Regions from separate parts of the Homo sapiens genome. Here region 1 is linked to region 2. The links are contacts of gene promoters, found by promoter capture Hi-C in blood cells and fetal thymus (Javierre and others, 2016). All regions are on one chromosome and are shown on one strand. Each heading gives the region's core, a stretch centred on a gene start or on the middle of the fragment in contact. The rest is flanking DNA. Distances are from core to core; before and after follow the strand shown.

Region 1 (3,780 bases), core at 640-3,139, 230 kb before region 2:
ACAGAGGAAAGAGCATATTCTAGGCCCAGAGCTGAGAGTGGGGGTGAGTGGTGGAGGGGTGTGGCAAGAGATTCAACTGGAGAGATCGAGAGGACAGATAAGTGTTAAAGGTAGTCAGGTGTGGTGGCATGCCTGTAGTCCCATTTACTCAGGAGGCTGAAGCGGGAGTATTGCTTGAGTCCAGGAGTTCAAGGCTGCAATGAGTTATGATCACATCACTGCACTCCAGCCTGGGCAACACAGTGAGACCCTGACTCTAAGCGGGGAAAAAAAAGAAGTAGTAAAGGCATTTTTGATTTAATGCCATGGGAATGCATTGATGGGTTCCAAGCTGCACATAACTGTTTACAGTTTTAAAAGCTCACTTTTGCTGCTGTATAGAAAATGGATTGGAGGGGTGAGAGTAGAAATGGGAGACCAGTATGGCAGCGGTTATCATCTTTCAGGGAAGTGGTGATTGTGGCCTGGACTAAAGTGATGACATTGCATTGGAGAGATTCTGAATTCCTGATGTACATTGAAGATAGAATCCACAGGGTATGCTTCTGATTACATGAGGGGATGAGGGTAATGGAGGACTTGAGGATGACTCATGGGTTTGAGTAGCTGGATGGATGGTGGTATTGTTTACTAAGCTGGGGAAAACAGTTGAGGTTGGAGATACATCGAGAGCTGTCATCATTAAAAGGGTATTACACTCATGAAGCCATCTAGGGAGAGTGCAGAGAAAGAACCGCGGAGCGTCTACTAACAAGCCACAGAATAATGCCATGCCCCTGAGGTGAGGGTGTGGCCTCATGATTGGATATTCTTGTGGCTAATCATCTGGGGAAGGGACCATTTGGTGCAATAATTATGTCCCTCAGGAGACTGGAACCAGGAGGCCAGCCTGAGGCCACCAGGAGAGGGAGGCTGCTGTCTCCTTGTCAGACAAGGTTTGGATTTCAGGAACTCCAGATGGCTTGCCGGGGCTCCTAGGTGAGAGGAGGTACACAGCATCCCTGTCCCCTGGAAGCAGGTGTGCATCCCATAGAGACATCTAAGATGCCCGGATTGGATCACATTTGTGAGCTACATTTTTAGTTGCATGTTACTCTTTCTGCTCACTTCCTTTCTGTTATCTTCAAGTCTTTTTTTTTTTTTTTTTTGAGACTGAGTCTCGTTCTATCACCCAGGCTGGAGTGCAATGGCACGATCTTGGCTCACTGCAAACTCTGCCTTCCAGGTTCAAGCCATTCTCATGCCTCGGCCTCCCGAGTAGCTGGGATTACAGGTGGCCGCCACCATGCCCAGCTAATTTTTGTATTTTTAGTAGAAATGGGTTGGCCAGGCTGGTCTCGAACTCCTGACCTCAAGTGATCCGCCCACCTCTGTCTCCCAAAATGTTGGGATTACAGGCGTGAGCCACTGTGCTCGGCCTATCTTCAAGTCTTTAGACAAGCTTTGGATAAATGTCCATCCTGGTCTCTGCTCTGCTATAGGAAATTAAACAAACAACAAAAAATAGTGTGTCTTAAATGCCATTGAAGAGTTAAAGGGATACTGACCCTCCCAAAACCAGTATGGTGGTGGGAGCTGCAGCCAGCAGTGAGAGGTCCCTAAGGGGAAAGCGGATCTCTTTTTCTAGAGTAGGGCGTCAGGTTCAGTCTCTCCTCTCCACATGGACAGGCTCCTTTCATGGCCAGGCTTAAAGGAGCTGGTTTTTTTTTTTTTTTTTTTTTGAGATGGAGTCTCCCTCTGTGGCCCAGGCTGGAGTGCAGTGGCGTGATCTTGGCTCACTGCAACTTCTGCCTCCTGGGTTCAAGTGATTCTCCTGCCTCAGCCTCCCCGAGTAGCTGGGACTATAGGTGCATGCCACCACACTGGGCTAATTTTTTTTTTTTCTATTTTTAGTAGAGACAAGGTTTCACCATGTTGGCCAGGCTGGTCTCGAACTCTTGACTTCAGGTGATCCACCCGCCTTGGCCTCCCAAAGTGCTGGGATTACAGGTGTGAGCCACGGCGCCCGGCCTGGTTTTGATAAGGGGAGCAGTCTACACTTTAAATCCCCCCTCCACTTGACTGTATGTTCCTTGAAGTAACATAGAGTACCGCATCTTTGTACCCGCAGTGTCCAGGAGGTTGTAAGCACTCCATCACTGTTAGTTTAATAGGTGATTGTTCACTAGACATTGTGAGACACACTGTGGTTTCCCAAAGAGCTTAGAATCCAGATTTGGTCAGCAGATGCACATGTTGATGCATGGCAGAGTGTGCCCGCTCTGTAGGTTACATGAAAGAGCTGGGAAATGCTCTTTGATCACAGAGGAGGGAAACATTACTCCCAGTGTGGGGGCAAGAAGCTTCAAACAGACTTTGTGGAGGAGGAAACATATGGCTGGGCCTTGCGGGCTGGAGCGAATTTCCAAAATAGGATGAGTAAAAGACAAACATGTGCCAGGTAGAGGGCTCCGTGAGAAGGGAGGCATGAGGAGAAGGCATTCCATTGCTTCAGTGCATGACCGGTAGTGAGGTGTGTTGCAAGGAGAGCATACGTGTGAACAGGGAGGAAGTGGCAAAGACGCAGAAATGATGTTGCAGCTCTGAAAAAAATGTCTTTCTGGGTGGGCAAGGCCTCTCTTGTCTCAGACCAAAAATGAAATATAAATAAATAAATAAATAAATGGTTCCCAGTGAATCCTGATAGCTAGGATTAACTTTTTATGGTAGAAAAATTTCTCAGCAGTGAGAGCTGTTAAACATTAGAATGGTTTGTGAGTGGCAGCTTTAGGAAATCTTTCCCTAGAGATTTTTATGCACAAAATAGACTGACTTATCATTTGTCAATGATTTCCTGTGGCCTCTCTTAAAGTCATGGGAAAGTATTACATGAGCTCTCAGATTCTATGTTACTTGATTCAATTCAACAAACACTTGAGTGTCAACTTGGTTCATGCCCCCAGGCATTGCTATATACTGGATTCATGCGCCCTCCCCGCAAGGGGCCTCTCTTCCAGTGATCCCCATCTCAACACATGATGCTTCCATCCATGTCATTGCCCGAATCAGAAACCTACTCTGCCTCACCACTGACATTCCATTAATCCCTAATCCCTATCTTCTCTGGAAGGTGTCCACTTCTCTCTAATCCCTGCCTCATGGCTCCAGGCACTAGCTCTCTCCTAGGGATTACTGCAATTGTCTAAATAACCTCCCAGCCTCCAGGCTCAGCCTGTTACAGTCCATCCTGCACACATAGTCTTTCTGAAATGGAAATCTGAAAGTGTGCCACTCTCCTGCTTCACATTTCTTCAATGGGTTCCTGGGCTTAGAGGTAGGAAGTGTGGAATCTGAGCCATTCTGCTCAGATCTTCCAACGTCCTTGAATCACAGCTTTGCTGTTCGACCTTGGGCAGTTATTTAAGCTGTCTTTGCAGCTTCCTCATCTACGAAAAGGGGATCACAACGGTAATTCATTTTAGAGTAGTTGGGGGGATTAAATGATTTCAGATCCTCCTCTCTTATGTGAACTCTTAAATTTGGAGTGTCCCTGGAATCTGGTTCTCTTATCTCTCCACACTCCTTCCCTCGGTCATCTCAACAGGTCCTACTACTTTAAATATCCATATACTGAAAACACCCAAATTTATATCTCAAGCTCAGCCCACTCTCCTGAACCCTGGACTTATATGTCCAGCTGCCTTCTCAACATCTCCACTTGGATAGTTAATGGAGCTCACAGATATATTGATATACTTTGGATGTTTGTCCCCTCCAAATCTCATGTTGAAATGTGATCCC
Region 2 (3,591 bases), core at 480-2,979:
AGGGCGAAACTCCGCCTCAGAAAAAAAAAAAAAAGGAAAAGAAAAGGCAGCTGCATACATTTACTTCAAGCATGAATCTAGGAAGCACCATTAGAGAGTGCCTACCCTGGAATATTCTAGTCTATGGGGCTTAGACACTACCTTCGGTTTAAAAACCACTGTTGGCGTTATGTCGCTCACCGTTCACACAGAGTGTCCCAGGGCAGCACATGGCATCTCGCTGGCACCTCCTCCGCAACCCACGACATGTAGCACAGAACGGCTTCTCATCGCGGGGCTGGAGGCAGAACTTTCTGGTATTGCAGTCCGTGTCAGACAGGCACTGTGAGCCCTGTGGAGGGAATCTGTTATCACAAGGCTAGGAAACCCCCAACACGATGGAAGATGACTTATTATTGAAGGCAGGAGGCGGAGGGAGCCAAAGGACAGTGGCGCTGTGACAAACCCTGGGCAGCATCTTACTCTCCAGTGGAAATGGTTTTCTCCCACAAAGGGAAGCTCATGTCACCCGGGGAGACCTAGGCGCTGCAAAGGCTATTTGAGTTTGAAAAATTGACTTAACTCAGAATTTAGTTTTCCTGTGCTCTTTGTGAAAATGGGAAAAAATGTTTTCCTATGTGTGTCTTAACAGGTGAGTATGAGATTTTCAATATATCTTAACTCTAGAAGCTGGCTACAGTTTCATTAAACATACTATTGATGTTTGTGGCATTCCTATTTGATTTTTTACTCTAGTGAATCACATTTAGCTTAGAGACCCTTCCCTAAGTGAACTGTCCTTTGATTTTCAATGATGCCTCATTGACATAGAGAAAGAGATACCGAAGATCAATTGTTCTCATACACAGTTGATGCTTCTACATAGACATACAACGTAGGTGTAGCATATATGATATATGTAATAATCTATACGATATATAATAACATATACACATACATAAAGCGATTCCTAAAACAACTCTCTCTGTGAAGTTAGATGGTGACAAGGCAATGCATCATGGCCCTCTGTTTAAATTCTCATTCCCATGTTTGCTTGCTGGCTGTGTGAGCTTGGGTAAGCTCTTCAACATCTCTGAGTCTTATTTCCTCATCTGGAATTAGGGAATGTTTCACCTATCTCAAATTGTGAGGAAGAGTACATGACGTATTACATGTAAAAGAGCTGGCACATAGTAGAGCTTCCAAAGTGTTCGTTTATTTCGTGATTTATAGACAAACGTATGGCCGAATGATGTGAAAAGCCACTGTGTTTATTTCATACATTCACACTAAGGCCACTGATCCTACCAGGATGCCCTCCCAAATCCGAAACCAATTCAATTTACCTGCTAGGTAAGACATTTCATACATGAATCAGAATGACTTACTAAAGCCTAAACAAAACACCCCAGCTGTCAGCAGTCCCGTACCTCGCCCCCCTCCCTAGCAGCCTTACCTTCCGGGCCCCATGCAGGTCAGCAGAGCTCCTGATGTTGTTGAAGTCCAGGACCAGAGCTCCCAGGGGAGAGCAGAGCCAGCTCAGCCCCAGCAGGACGGCCGCCACCATCCTTCAATCCCGGGGCTCCTGGAGGGTCCCAGCACTGTGCGTCACCAAAGCGAGGCTGCTCTCCACCCAGAGCAGAGCTTCCACTAAGCTGGCAGCTCAGCACGTCGTCTGTTTGTCACTGCTTTTTCTGAAAGAAGTAAACCTTAGTCTGAGTAAGGTGCGTGAAATCGGCTGAGCAAAGTCTGACCAGCAGGTTCCTCCTGAAACTATTTATAACCAGATGTGCCTCCTCCCCGCTCCGTTCCTTCCTCCTGCCCCACACAGGCTTCAACAAATCCCTTCAAATCTGTTTGATCAATAGTTCAAAACAAGGACTCAATAGAAGGAGAGAAGAGGCAGGGCCATGCGGCTTCTCCTCCAGGGGTTCAATCCCTCTTAATTATTGCATATCAAAGTTAGTTCAAAGGGCCACGGCAGAGCAGGATGTCTGTATCAAAGGCAAACTCTGATAATCACCTGCATTTCCTACCTTCAGTAATCCTTTGGGGGTAGGGAGGGAGTCTGCCCTAAGATCTGTTTTCACAGCTAATTGTGCTCAAAGAAAGGATGAATCATACTGGCCAATATGCTATAGAGGATGCCAAAAACTAATGAGGTACAAAATACACTGAGAAGCTGTAAACTGGGCTTCAGATAGTGAGGACAGATAGAAAAAGAGAAAACGCCCCCTGATTAGCTCTGGCATCCAGATGTCAAAATCCCAACCGCTTAAAAGTTGTGAACGTAACAGCACCTGTTCTGACTAAATGCCATTTGGGAAATTACTTTCCTTTAAATGAAAATTGAACTGTTTGAAGTTAGGGTTATTAGGAAAATAATGTAATTTATGAAAATCCCATTTTTCAATGGTGGGAACAATGATAGCGCATTTTACACAATTCAGTACGAAGCTTTGGGTCCATTTTATCAGCAACATATTTAATTTGTGTTGCATTATGTAAAACTCACTTAAGCAGAACAAGGATCCAAGTCTCTGGCTGATTTCAGATGAAATTTCATGTATTTCCAATTTTCCTAATACGAATTTTTTAAAACTTCTGCTTCATCCCTTTCCTGTCTGATTTTTTTCCATTTGGACTATTAGTCAGGTAATTTAGACATGTGCTTATCACTGTCTTAAATACTTTAAGGGTAGAACAATCTAGATCTGGATCAAAAAATCATTTTTTCTCTTCATTGTTTCATTGCTCTTAGCATAGAGTCATCTAAAATGCATTTTTTCTATGCCATAAATGATAATCTTATTATTTACTACATTTTCCTGCAGAACAACCTAACATCAATTCATTGACATGAATCTCAGCATTCTGTGCATGGGAACATTCTCAATTTTGAGTAATGCAGTGCCATTCCGAGGGTGATGCAGGTGATTCGAGCCTTCCTACTACTTGGCCCTTGTCCTTGGGTTGGTATTGCTTGTCTACCTCTCGTATGGAAGTTACTTGTTTTAATCCCTTAAACTGACATCAAACAACACCCTTTGATAGCATGATAACCCTGGTGACTAGGGGTGTTACAGAATTTATTTTCAAGTTGTACAATTATGACCAAGGATAAAGGAAAGAGCCCCCAGGGTTCTGTCTCTGCCGGGTTTCTCTGCTTCCTGCTGCCTCACTGTAAGGGAATTTCAGGTTACCAAAGGCCCCTGGCAATATACACAGGCGAAAGAACTGACGGGAACTCCTGTAACACGGCACAAACAGCCACTGAGCACTTAGAGCACTTGGCATGGAACAGAGCCTCGGATTACATGTTAGGAATAAAATTTGAAACTCCAATGGCCGGGCACAGTGGCTCACACCTGTAATCCCAGCACTTTGGGAGGCCAAGGTGGGAAGATCTCCTGAGCTCAGGAGTTCAAGACGAGCCTGGGCAACATATTGAGATCCTGTCTCCACAAAAAAAAAAAAAAAAAAAAAAGTAGGCCGCGTGCGGTGGCTGACGCCTGTAATCTCACCACTTTGGGAGGCTGAGGTGGATGGATCACCTGAGGTCAGGAGTTCGAGACCAGCCTGGCCAATATGGTGAAACCCTGTCTCTACTAA

Evidence for each region. Contacts are between HindIII fragments. The CHiCAGO score rates a contact against its expected background, and 5 or more counts as called.
Region 1: a fragment that was not itself captured here is called in contact with the fragment with the promoter of DKK4 in region 2 in 2 of 17 cell types (megakaryocytes and endothelial precursors); the score reaches 5.7 in megakaryocytes.

The regions. Positions count from the first base shown.
Region 1 is chr8:42,145,590-42,149,369 of GRCh38, forward strand. No RefSeq gene overlaps it. Among named protein-coding and RNA genes, the nearest start is that of AP3M2, 5.6 kb to the right of the region's middle. The HindIII fragment of the contact is 901 bases long and covers 1,440-2,340 here.
Region 2 is chr8:42,375,500-42,379,090 of GRCh38, forward strand. DKK4 (dickkopf Wnt signaling pathway inhibitor 4) reads right to left here and starts at 1,730. Exons shown (of 4, transcript NM_014420.3): 1 at 1,436-1,730; 2 at 181-331. The coding sequence starts at 1,546. The HindIII fragment of the contact is 5,398 bases long and covers 1-2,434 here.